3 separate regions of the Homo sapiens genome follow, and regions 2 and 3 are each linked to region 1. Evidence: promoter capture Hi-C in 16 types of primary human blood cells and fetal thymus (Javierre and others, 2016). All regions are on one chromosome and are shown on one strand. Each heading gives the region's core, a stretch centred on a gene start or on the middle of the fragment in contact. The rest is flanking DNA. Distances are from core to core; before and after follow the strand shown. Region 1 holds the start of HTATIP2 (HIV-1 Tat interactive protein 2). Region 2 holds the start of RPS13 (ribosomal protein S13). Region 3 overlaps C11orf58 (chromosome 11 open reading frame 58).

Evidence for each region. Contacts are between HindIII fragments. The CHiCAGO score rates a contact against its expected background, and 5 or more counts as called.
Region 2: a fragment that was not itself captured here is called in contact with the fragment with the promoter of HTATIP2 in region 1 in 2 of 17 cell types (non-activated CD4 T cells and naive CD4 T cells); the score reaches 10.2 in non-activated CD4 T cells.
Region 3: a contact is called between a fragment that was not itself captured here and the fragment with the promoter of HTATIP2 in region 1, in 1 of 17 cell types (non-activated CD4 T cells). The highest score is 6.5, in non-activated CD4 T cells.

The regions. Positions count from the first base shown.
Region 1 is chr11:20,361,343-20,365,608 of GRCh38, forward strand. It overlaps HTATIP2 (HIV-1 Tat interactive protein 2), which reads left to right and starts at 2,372. Exons shown (of 5, transcript NM_001098522.2): 1 at 2,372-3,090. The coding sequence starts at 2,896. RefSeq lists silencers at 2,373-2,792, 2,579-2,721. The HindIII fragment of the contact is 1,649 bases long and covers 1,272-2,920 here.
Region 2 is chr11:17,077,557-17,082,119 of GRCh38, forward strand. It overlaps RPS13 (ribosomal protein S13), which reads right to left and starts at 111. Exons shown (of 6, transcript NM_001017.3): 1 at 63-111. The coding sequence starts at 85. RefSeq lists an enhancer at 145-344. The HindIII fragment of the contact is 676 bases long and covers 913-1,588 here.
Region 3 is chr11:16,756,618-16,761,124 of GRCh38, forward strand. It overlaps C11orf58 (chromosome 11 open reading frame 58), which reads left to right. Exons shown (of 5, transcript NM_014267.6): 5 at 1-1,723. Among named protein-coding and RNA genes, the nearest start is that of C11orf58, 20 kb to the left of the region's middle. The HindIII fragment of the contact is 2,020 bases long and covers 2,093-4,112 here.

The DNA of each region.
Region 1 (4,266 bases), core at 1,122-3,621:
TATATATATATATATATATATATACACACACACACACACATCTTATATATATATACACATTTTATATATATATATACACATTTTATATATATACACACATTATATATACACACACATTATATATATACACATTATATATACACATTATATATACACACATTATATATATACACATTTTATATATATATACACATTATATATATATATAAAACATTATATGTGTGTGTGTGTGTGTGTATATATATGTCCAAGAGTAATGAAAACATGTTACTGCAGAAAGACTGGTCCAATAATGTTCATAGGAGCCTTATTCATAATTAGCCAAAAGGTAGAAACAAACCAAATGTCCATCAACAGGAGAATATTTAAACATGTTGTGGGATATTCATACTGGAATACTGGAAGGCTACTCAGCAATAAAAAGGAATGAATTCCTGATACATGAAACAACCAGGGCTGATTTACTCATTTGGCACAGTAGGCACAGTTCTGGGGCCTGTGAAAATAAACTTTTAGGTGGAAGAAAATGTTTTAGGTGAAAGAAATTGTCATATTCATCTTTATAGCAACATAGTCATAAGACATAATTTTTGATTATATAAATAGTTTGTCATATTCATCTTTATAGCAACATAGTCATAAGACATAATTTTTGATTATATAGTGTGTGTACATAAAATGAAGGGGCTCATGAAGTGCTTAGGGCCCATAGAAATCATAATGCAGGCCTACAAACAAGAATAAATACTAAAATATGTGTTAAGCCAAAAACCTGGGACACAAAAGAGTACATGCTGTACTCTTAAATAGAATTCTACAACAGGCAAAACTAATCTATGTTGATAGTGACCAGAAAGTGATTACCTCTGGAGTGGGGAGAGATTGCAAGAAGGGAATGAAGGCACTTTCAGGGATGGCAGACATGCTCTATATCTTGTTTTTGGTGGTGGTTATTTAGGTGTATATACAATCTCCTAAAATCATGGAACAGAACCTTTAGGTTCTGTACATTTTATTGTATATTAATTATGCCACAATTTTAAACAAAGGGGAAGAATAGACAGGGTACAATGAATAATTTCTGTGACAGATTTGATAAATGAATTACTAGGACAGTGTTTGCTGACAAGGTTTAACATTGCATTCTTGTAGAAAACCTTTAGGAACTCAAAGGGAAGAGTCCAGGCACTGTGACAGGCCAGTGGGGAATGAACCACACTGCTCTATATTAATCAAGCTTTTTTATTGCAAACAACAGAATATATCTGGTAAGCTTATACAGCACAGGAATTTATCAGAAGAATAACAGGAAGTACTGTATTCACAACAGTCTCTGAAAACAGGCAGGAATTTAAGACAAGATCAGACCATCAGATGGCTGGTGGATCATATGATGCCATAATCCTATACCCTTGCCCCAACCAACCCACATATATCTCAGGCCTTCACTGCATCTTTTCATTACTCCTCCAAAACTGAAAACCTATGCGTGAGCCTCTGGCTTGCTGAGCCTAGGCAAAGCCTACATATAATAACTCCCATGGAGATGGAAGAGGCAATGTGTTTCATTGGCTTCTAGATGGGAGGTGGGGCCCCCAAATGACCAATGTTCCCAACAAAACCTGAACAATCTGAAATTATTCAGATTTCTGCTTGTCATTCTAACCTCTGTTCAGGACTTCCAAGATCCAGGACAGGCCCAGTGTAGATACCTGTGTCCCAAACCACTGATCTGGGCTAGGAAGACTGAATCACAGGTGTGGAAGGTCACCCGGGTTCAACCATCTAGGTGATGAATTAGGCCAGGACCTGGGCAGGTAGACCATTTATTCTGGGGAGATATGATGCGAGCTTGAATTACATGGGAGAAATATTTGTAAGGCAGATGGGATAACAGGACTTGATAAGTCTGTAGTGTGGAAAGGCTAGAAAAGAAAGGAATCAAAGGAATCCTGATTTCTGACTTGACAGGGTAGAAGGAGGTGTGTGTGTGTGTGCGTGTGTGTGTGTATGTTTATGTAGGGACAGTGACACCCAAGAGAGGCTAGGAATAGGTTTGTTTTATTCCTGTTTGGGGTGGTTGGGTAGGCAGGGTTAAGTTTTTGACTTGGTGAATTTGAGATGATGGCCAATATACAATTGACATTCCAGCTGGGGGGACCATTGAAGATCAAGTCTGGCAAGTCTACTAGCTGGCGCCTGGGTGAGCTGAGCCCAGCAGGTGAGGGAAAACGCGGGAAGAGGGTCTTGCAGATTCCAAACTTAGGAAGGGTCGCGGCTCCGCGCACGTGCTCTCGGGGTCACCTTCCCCGCGCCTGTGAGGGTGCCAGGAGTTCGTCTCCAGGTCCCGCCCCTGTGGGCGGGGCGAGGCAGCGTCGCCGCGAGGCCACCCGGAAGACCAAGCCGGGTAGGCGCTGTCTCCGTCGCCTCCAACCCCCCCGGTCCGACCAGGGAAGGTGGGATGCTCTGATGGCCGGGCCTGCGGCGCTGAGCGCGGCGGCGGCGGCTGCTCTGGCGGCCGCCCTGCTCCTGCTGCGTCGTGAGGACCCGGGGCCGGGGGCTGGCCCCAGGTAACCCCTCCGCGTATGGGACCGAGCTGGGCCAGGTCTCCTGGCCGGGCCGGGGATACCGTGGGGTATGCCCAGTGATGCCAGCAGCTTGTGGCACCTGGGCGCACCCTCCAGCTCGGGCCCCTTCCGATGGGTCTGCTGGCTCAGGTGCGGGCGATGGCCGGGGAGCCGCGCCCCGCACGTGACTCAGCACTTTCCCCAGAGCCCGGACTGCGGAGAACAATATCCTCCTCCCTAACAGATAAACAGCCCTTGTTCCTCGGGATAAGGACTGGCAGTCCCCTGACACCCTAAGACCGGCATCTGTCGATGTTATTTCCCCAGCATGGCCGAAACAGAAGCCCTGTCGAAGCTTCGGGAAGACTTCAGGATGCAGAATAAATCCGTCTTTATTTTGGGCGCCAGCGGAGAAACCGGCAGAGTGCTCTTAAAGGAAATCCTGGAGCAGGGCCTGTTTTCCAAAGTCACGCTCATTGGCCGGAGGAAGCTCACCTTCGACGAGGAAGCTTATAAAAATGTGGTGGGTATTTCAGCTGGGACTCAAATGGACCCCCAGGATTCTGCGAGGTGAACATATTTCATGCCTAAAGGCTGAATACTGCCCTGCCAGTGGTGGGGGTAGTGAGAGGCCATCAAAACTTGGCCAAGATTGGTCTGTGAGAGTCCCTCCCAGAAGTCTGACTCCTGGATTGTAGCCCAGGTGTGCCTCCCTCCCGCTCATTGTGTGGTCTTGGGCAAAGCCCTTCTCTCCATCTGCAACCCTATAAAGCTGGGTCTGGGTTGTAATGGGGGTGGGGGCTGGTGAGACAGAAGAGCACTGTTTTCAGGGTCATACAAGCTGTATTCTAGAGGCAGCCCTGGTGACCTTGAGAATTTTCTCAGCCACTTTGCTGATTTTGTCAACCTGCGCACTTCACACTAATATTGTCAGGGATTCTGAAACTGCTTTGCAGAGTGAGATAGGTCTATGGCAGTGAAAGGTGGGATTATTCACTTACAAGAATTTGCCCTGCCTGACTTCCCAGGCTTGTGTCTGTAAATCGGATATTCCCTTCACTCTAAGTTAAAGGTTTTTTTTTTTTTTTTTCTGAGACGGAGTCTCACTCTGTCCCCCAGGCTGGAGTGCAGTGGCACGATCTCGGCTCAGTGCAACCTCTGCCTTTCAGGTTCAAGCGATTCTTCTGCCTCAGCCTCCCGAGTAACTGGAACTACAGGCGTGCGTCACCACTCCTGGCTAACTTTTGTATTTTTAGTAGAGACGAGACAAGGTTTCACCATGTTGGCCAGGCTGGTCTCGAACTCTTGACCTCAGATGATGCTCCCGCTTCAGCCTCCCAAAGTGCTGCGATTACAGGCGTGAGCCACCGCGCCCAGCCTAAGTTACACTTTTATGATTATAGGAATGATATACCAGACTTCTGTCTTGTCATGACCCCCTAAATATCAGAAGCCTGAGTTTCTTGGAGATTCTGTTCTTTATTTAAAGGGAATTATCTGTGAACTGCAACAAATTAACATAGTGTGATCTCAAGACACCACAGCTACAGAATTTGGCCCCACAGGTTTCATAGAAAGAACATTTCAAATAACAAGCCATCTTGCAAATAAATGTTCTTGATTCTCGCAGGTCTGTGTTCAGGTCATGGTGTGAATGCCTTTGGTCCATCAAGTCTTGTTTATTTAAAACAGACATCTT
Region 2 (4,563 bases), core at 1-2,500, 3.3 Mb before region 1:
CCACACTCCCTGTCTTCCTCCCACCCCCCGCCCAGCAATCCGGCTTGATGCCCCGAGCTCACCCGGGAGCATGCATGCGACCCATGATGGCGGCGATCAGGCAACGAAAGGAGAGCGAGAGTGGAAACGCCGCAGGAAGCCACCCAACACGCAGGAAGTGACCTCACACGTCCCCGCTTCCTCTCACGCAGGAGGCGGAGCTACGCTGCGCAGCCACCGCCCGTCTGTGTGACTACATCTCCCGAAATGCATTTCAGCGTCGCAAGAGATCGTCAATCCAGCCTCATCCCGGCATGCATCGGTCTTTGGTCAGCCTTGTTGCCAGAGCGGGAATTTGAGGCTGACGCCAGCTTGCGTCGAAATTCCCTGTGGACGCCGAGATCACAAAGATTCGAATGCTGCGCTGGGGGTGGGTATGGAGCAGGTAGGGCTGGAAGAAGCAGCCATACACAGGTGTTTGCTCATTCACCAGTGCCTGGCTTTGTCCTGGCACTAGATCCCTCAGAGTCGGCCCTGCGCCTAATAAATTAACAGATACAATAGCATGTGATGAGGACCACACGGGAAGCCATGGCAGCGGCTACCGCCCAGCCAGCGCTTCCATTTCTCATTTCTAAATCCTACCCTAATCTGTCAGGGGAGAGTCGCTGACGGTGAAGAACCGGTCTAAGGAGTTGAACCAGGTCCCCACGGATGCCTGCCGCCCTCCGCACTCGAATTCCCCTGCGCAGGGCTCTGGGGCGCTGGGCTCGCCGGGGAGAAGGGTTGGGCAGAGGCTTACGGAGCTATGTTCCCAAGTGAGAGAGTTGGCGGGCAGGGAAGAGCCTTGGGAGCAAGACTGCAAAGGCCAAGAGGATGAGGGATAAAATGAAGCATTTGAATTTCATGGGAAAAGGGAACCGTCAAGGAAGAAGCTTTTTTTTTTTTTTGAGACGGAGTTTCGCTCTTGATTCGCAGGCTGGAGTGCAATGGCGCGATCTCGGCTTGCCGCACCCTCCGCCTCCCGGCTTCAAGCGATTCTCCTGCCTCAGCCTCCTGAATAGCTGGGATCACAGGCATGCGCCACCACTTCCAGCTAATTTTGTATTTTTAGTAGAGACGGGTTTTTCCATGTTGGTCAGGCTGGTCTTAAATTCCCGACCTCAGGTGATCCGCCCGCCTCGGCCTCCCAAAGTGCTGGGATTACAGGCGTGAGCCACCGCGCCTGGCCGGAAGAAGCTCTTTTAAGACAGACCTAGCCTGGGCAACATGGCGAAACCCCCTCTCTATAAATACAAAGAATTAGCCGGGCGTGCTCGCTCGTGCCTTTGGTTCCAGCTACGAAGGAGGCTGAGGTGGAGAATCTCTGGAGCCGGGAAGGACATTGCGGTGAGCCGAGATAGCACCACTGCGCGCCAGCCTGGGCAACAGAGCAAGACTCTGTCTTAAAAAAAAAAAAAAAAAAGGAAAGAAAGAAAAAGACTGACTCAGTGCCGGTACACAACAATGCGTTGAAAGAATGGGCAAATGAAGCAGCTTCTTAAAATTTTAAAAAGTAAGCATAGCTCTAGGAAGGAGGGAGGTCAGTGAAATCAAACTCCTGTCGACAAGCTTAAAGTAACTGGCAAGACGCTGGGAAACTAGATACTGAAACATCCGCTCTTAACTTTTAACCTGTCACTATTTGAAATAAAGTTATCAGGGATAGCCGGGCGCGGTGGCTCACGCCTGTAATCCCAGCACTTTGGGAGGCTGAGGCGGGCGGATCACGAGATCAAGAGATCGAGACCATCCTGGCTAACACGGTGAAACCCCGTCTCTACTAAAAATACAAAAAAATTAGACGGGCGTGGTGGCGGGCGCCTGTAGTCCCAGCTACTCAGGAGGCTGAGGCAGGAGAATGGCGTGAACCCGGGAGGCGGAGCTTGCAGTAAGCCACGATCGCACCACTGCACTCCAGCCTAGGTGGCAGAGCGAGACTCCGTCTCAAAAAAAAAGTATCAGGGATAAAGAGAGAACCCTTTATAACAACAAACGGGTCAGTTCTCCAAGAAAACAACACCCCTCCCCCCCAAAAAAGCCATAATCTGTCACTATTTGATTAATAACTTTTCCCAAAGCATTAGGAATTTTAGTCAAATCGGGTACCCTATTTGGGTAATGTTTTTTTCTAGCAAAGTTTATCATTAGCCAATTTTACATTTTTAGTTCAGATATGGAATAGGTATCTCAAATTTAATATGACTCCAATTCCCAAACCATGCCCCTTTGTTTCAGTTAAACACGATCCTGTTTGCTCAAACTTAATACAAACCTAGGCATCTCCGTTTTTCTCTGATTTCCCTCTGTCATCCCAGCTCTACCACAAGAATGTATCATGAATATGTTCCCTTTGCCCCATTTCCACCTTCAGTCCCAGCCACCATCACCTCCTATCTGGGCAACTCTGTAGTATCCACACCGTCTGGTCACGTCCCCACTCTAAACACAACCCACTCTCCACCTAGCAGTCAGAGTGATCCATTAAATACATAAAGCAGATTAATTCATTGCTCCCCTGTGTAAATCCCTCCCATACTTTCTCAATGCACCTAAGATCCAATCCCTGGACCCACGTCTTGCCACTATCCCCCGATTCTAAACGCTCTAACCGCACTTACTCCTTTCTGACTCTACAAGGTAGCAATGTGTTCCTTTCCTGCTTAGAGCCCTTCCTCTTGCTGTTGGCACTGCCTGAAGTGCTTGCTCTTCCTCAAGACCTTTTCAGGTCTCACTTTCACATCCTGGCCTCCATGTCATCTCAGGGTGGCTTTCCCTAAATAGGATCATCTAAAGTAGTCCTTCTTCCCAACACAATATCCTATTGATTACTTTCAAAGCACCCAAATCTCTAACATCCTTTCTAGTTGCTTGTTTGGTTGCCTGTCCACCTCCAATAAAAATTAGCTCTGAGAGTACAACGTTTATTGCTTTATCTCCAACACCCACAAGAGTGCCTGGCGGGAAGTTAGGTACTCAGTAATTATTTGAAAGAATGAACCTAAATAATGTCATTTTTCCCCCTTTGTAGATGTCTAGATTGTAGACTTTATTTCAGGAAGATGATGGGAATAGTAGATTTAGCAATCTAGTCCCAGATTACAGGATGTCTGTGTGTAATTTGGGTTGTCAGTTAGTTATACATGAAGATTTTTGTTTTTGTTTTTTGAGAGAGTCTCGTTCTGTCACCCAGGCTGGAGTGCAGTGGCCTGATCTTGGCTCACTGCAACCTGCACCTCCCGAGTTCAAGAGATTCTCCTGCCTCAGCCTCCCGAGTAGCTGGGACTACTGGCACCCGCCACCACGCCCGGCCAATTTTTGTATTTTAGTAGAGATGGGGGTTTCACCATGTTGGCCAGGCTGGTCTCAAACTCCTGATCTCAAGTGATCCGCCCGCCTCAGCCTCCCAAAGTGCTGGGATTACAGGTGTGAGCCACTGCACCCGGCCTGCCATAGTTATTTTATCTGGTAATGTTTGTATATTCAGTAATGATGATAAAATACGATGTAGTGCTGAGTTTTAATCAAACGGTGTTTACCTTCTATTAAGCCATGCTCCATTGCCTTTATATGTGGCATGCTTTTGTGAGAGCTGCTTTTGCAAATTGGAAACTTCTAATTTTTTAGACAAAGGGAAAGTTATAATTTTAGTATCTAGAAAATAGTTACTGTTAATGCATTTATTAAGGTCAGAAGTTCAGTGATCAAATAGCTTTACAAACTGAATTTTTAATATTTTTTTACTGAGGTAAATTCATACCATGAAATTCACTTTTTTACCATTTTGAAGTATACAGTTACTTCAGTAACTTTTATTGCACTCACAATGTTGTGCAGTCATTACCACTAATTCCTGATATGTTATTACCCCCAAAAGAAACCCGGTAACTATTAAGCTGTTGGCTCTCCAGTCTCCTCTCCCCACTCTAATCTGCTGTCTCATGGACTTGCCTATTCTGGACATTTCATATAAATAGAATCATAAGGCCAGGCACGGTGGCTCATGCCTGTAATCCCAGCATTTTGGGAGGCCGAGGCGGGTGGATCACGAGGTCAGAAGTTCAAGACCAGCCTGGCCAACATGGTGAAACCTCGTCTCTACTAAAAATACAAAAATTAGCCAGGTATGGTGGCAGGCACCTGTAATCCCAGCTACTCCGGAGGCTGAGGCAGAGAATCGCTTGAACCCAGGAGGTGGAGGTTGCAGTGAGCCGAGATGGTGCCACTGCACTCCAGCCTAGGCATGAGCCACCGCGTCCGGCCTTATGATTCTATTTATATGAAATGTCCAGAGATGGAGTTTTGTCATGTTTGCCAGGCTGGTCTCAAACTCCTGACCTCAGGTGATCCATCTGCCTCGGCCTCCCAAAGTGCTGGGATTACAGGTGTAAGCCACCGTGCCCAACTTTTTTTTAAAGGGACGGGGTTCTCACGATTTTGCTCAGGCTGGTCTTGAACTCCTGGGCTGATGCAACCCTCCAGCCTCAGCCTTCCAAAGTGCTGGGATTATAGGCATGAGCCACTCCCCAGCTTCCCGAGCATGTT
Region 3 (4,507 bases), core at 1,853-4,352, 3.6 Mb before region 1:
AGAACGTGTTGCCATGTGCGGTGGCTCACACCTATAATCCCAGCACTTTGGGAGGCCGAGGTGGCTGGATCACCTGAAGTCAGGAGTTTGAGACCAGCCTGACCAACATGGAGAAACCCCATCTCTACTAAAAATACAAAATTAGCTGGGCGTGGTGGTGCATGCCTGTAATCCCAGCTACTCAGGAGGCTGAGGCAGGAGAATCACTTGAACCCAGGAAGCGGAGGTTGCAGTGAGCCAAGATCACCCCATTGCACTCCAGCCTGGGCAACAAGAGCAAAACTCCATCTCAAAAAAAAAAAAAAAAAAAATTTAGAATGTGTTAGAGAAATTTAACAAGTAGAACAGGTGATTTCTGGTTGATAGACTCTATCTTGCAGTATATTTATTTCATGTATCAGACCCCAAAGTTGTTGCCTTGTTATTTTTTTAATTTCTCACATTTTTGAAAAATAGATGCTATCCTCTATAGTAAAATATTGAATCACTTTATAGTAGACAATACATATGACATTTAACAAATACTTGGTTTGAAAAAGTTTGGCTTTATTCAACAATTTTAGTTTGCCCACTGATTTTCAAATGTCTGTGGGATTGCTTATAACTAAGTAGAAAGTGAAGACTGATTTTTACTTAAGAATGGGATAGAGATGAGTTTTATGGTTTTTAAAAGTATTTTCAGTTCATTATTTAAATGTTGGGTTGTTGATATGGTCTTGTTTCTGATAAGGAAATAGGAGCAACTTGTTTTAAAATAACTACACTAAAAGACTTTCTTCATCTCCGTATAGAGAAATCCAGATTTCAATTAATTCATTTATTGGGTGCTAACAAAATTCAGGGTTAGAGTAAATTTAGGTCTGTTGGTCCATGTGGCCTGGTTTCCTAGCACCCATTAAACATAATGCTATCTTTTAAGCCTGAACATGTGGGTTTTTTAAATCAAATTGGAAAAAAATTAGACAACTGATGTCATGCTGTCTTGGTATCCATACTAAAAAAGTATCAGGAAAATAGATTATTTTTGTGCTGTGAAACACTATTCAGTGGAAAGTTTAGTGGCAACTTTTCCATATCATTCATGACTTAATACCTGAAATGCACTTTTAAATGTTTGCCTTATATCCAAGTGTTTACTTGTATCCATGACCTAACCGTCTATTGAAAAGAATGTTTGCAGATGCAGATTGCAATGTTGTTTGTATTCATAGGCAAAAGTCCTCTTCTCTAGTATAATTTTTTAAATCTGAGAGAATTGAAGGTACAGAAAAAAATTCTGGAGTGCCTGAACCACAGTTTGAGAGCACAAAGGTCACATTCTTTCAGTAAATTTGGGGGAAATAAATTTCAGCTACCTGGTTAGCTTCAGTGACTACTTACACACAGGGCTTTGGTTCCATTACTTGTTTCCACCACAGCCACATCCTAAATACTTGGAATATCCGAAAACAACTTCTAAAATCACTCAATAAAAGTATTCACTTCTAACCAACTCCTCCTCCTTTATACCTGCTCTGTGTTAGGGCGTAGTCTGTTTCCACCTCTGTAAGTCCTATCTAGGCTTCCTGATCTATCAATTCAGTATCATGATTGTTAACCCAAACGACTTCCTGGAAAATTCCCAGCCCTAGATGTATCCAAGCCCTCCTACCCTCACCAGTTATTTCTGGAGAAAGATCACCAAATGTATAAATCCGTATTAGTAAAAATTGGTTTTAACTGACCTCAGCACTGCCCATTACCCTTATTTTCTCTAGTCGGTTCTCCATTCTTACTATGTAAAACTTATACTCTGAAACTTGTTACCCTCTTTTTTTCCTTCACTCTTAACATGTCCTTGCCTTCTATCTTACATAAAAATAGAGACCTTCAGGCACAAATTCCCTGAACTTCACTTACTAAATCCACAGCCATGGACAAGATTCTGTGCTCTAGGTTGTGACATCCCAACTCTACCACAGGGCTAAACTCGGTGACCTTGAGCATAAGTTGATCTCTCTGGGTCTCCTTTCTGGGTAAGTAAAATGAGGATAGTAACAGTAACCCCCTTTGCATAGTTAGTTATTGTGAGACTTAGGTAAAATGAACAAAAAGCTTAGTGCATAGATAAGTGATCAGTAAGTGCTGGCTCCTGGTTCCCACCACCCCCTCTGCCGCCCCGAGATGGGGTCCTGCTCTGTCACCCAAGCTGGAGTTCAGCAGCATGATCATGGTCATGGCTCACTGCAGCTTTAACTTCAACGGGCTCAAGCCCCTCCCACCTCAGCCTCCTGAGTAGCTGGGACCACAGGTGTGTGCCACCACACCTGGCTAATTTTTTAATTAATTTGTAGAGACTGGCTATGTTGCCCAGGCTGGTCTTGAACTCCTGGTCTCAAGCAATCCTCCTGCCTCAGCCTCCCAAAATGTTGGGATTACAGTTGTGAACCACCACACCCAGCCTACTGTTGAATCTTTTAAACCTTGTGAATGTAGTGCTTATTATCTTCCCTTGAGTCTTCAACCTCCCCCTTAATCTGTGACCCTTTTCTTTTGGCATTTGTTCAAGTATTTCATATCTTTTTAAGCAAGTTGCTCCTAGGTACCACCTATGTTTGGTGTAATTCTCTCATCTATATCTAATTTTAGTAACTTTTCTATTACTGCCTCTATTTCTTACTTCCATCCCCTCCCTCCTCAATCCACTCCAGTGTGGCTCCTACCCACCCTAGACACAAGAGCACTGAAAACTTTAATCAAATCAATTATTGACATTTTCCTAAAACATAAGTACTTGTAAATTCTTCCCTTGACCTGTTAGCAGTACTTAGCATTGTTAACCAGTAGGATGTACGTGCTTAGTACATGAAGGGGTTCGGTAGATAATTTCCCAATCCTGTACATCCATATGTATTTGTTCCTAAATTGATCTGCCTTAAGACAACTACCTCTTATTTCACAGCCTTTCTCCCACTAGAGGAAAGGCAATACCTCTCAGCCATGCCAGACCTACTGTGTTTAATTGTCCCAGGGAATAAAATATTTCATGGGTCCAAACAAAGGGACAATTTGAAACATTCATGTTTATGTTGAGGCCTGAATGACTCCCTTTGCAAGTCAGATGGTTTCTGTCATCTGTCAGATGCCCTCAATGAAACTAGCAGACAAGTGAATTGTCAGCTAATTTATTAAAAATAAATTTTGATGCAAGATCACTATGATTTTTGGCCTAAGAGTTCAGAAGATTGACATTCCTAAAACCTATTATTGACTTTTTATCATGTGAGCAAAGTTTCTCAGTGCTTTCATCTATAAAAATAGAAAATGGACGGACGTTTTCTACTTTAGGAACTCCAGTTATGTGCATGTGTCATTTCCTATCTCTATGTTATTTTTCTTTATGATTCCTCTTCCTTATTTCCCTTATCATGATTCAAACACTGTATACCCCATCATTCCCACTTTCATTTTTGCGGTTATTTTTGATTTCCTGAGTTCTGCCAGCTCACATTTCACTCTTTGTCATTTCATTGTATCTTCCTTTTTTCTTTTCGAGACACAGTTTCACTCTTGTCACTCAGGCTGGAGGGCAGTGGCACCATCTCGGGTCACTGCAACCTCTGCCTCCCAGGTGCAAGTGACTCTCCTGCTTCAGCCTCCCAAGTGGCTGGGATTACAGGCGCATGCCACCACACCCGGCTAATTTTTGTATTACTAGTAGAGATGGGGTTTCTCCATGTTGGCCAGGCTGGTCTCAAACTCCTGGCCTCAAGTGATCTGCCTGCCTCGGCCTCCCAAAGTGCTGAGATTACAGGCATGAACCACTGTGCCTGGCCTTATCTTCTATTTCTGATGTATGTTCTTGTAGAGATGAATCTTTAATTAAGATATTAAAGTCATTGTAAAATATTTAATCATAATTTTCAAATATTTGAAGCAGTATTTTTCTGGAGAGTGTTTTTCATCTGCCATTTATTTTTCTCTCTATTATATCCTTATACAGAGCTTTTGCTAGCTTTTGTTTTTTTAATTGTCTGATCAACTGCAAGTATTTATTGAGCACCTGCTATGTGCCAGGCAGTCTTAGGCACTGGGAGTACAACAGCAAACAAAATCAGACCCTGCTTTAATAAAGCTTAGACTCTAGTGGAGGGGAGACACAATAAACACTTCATATATATATACATACACACACATACACACACACACGTTATATATATAATATATATAATAACGTGTTATATATAACATCTATTATATATGTATTATATATATGTTATATAATACATATATAATATATATATAATGTATATATTATGTATATATACACCATCTCGGCTTTTAGTAGAGATAGGGTTTCACCATGTTGGCCAGGATGGTCTTGATCTCCTGACCTCGTGATCCATCCGCCTCAGTCTCCCCAAAGTGCTGGGATTACAGGTATGAGCCACCATGCGTAAATATATATATATATTTACATATATATCTCATATATATGTCAGATGGTGCTAAATATTAAAACAGGGTT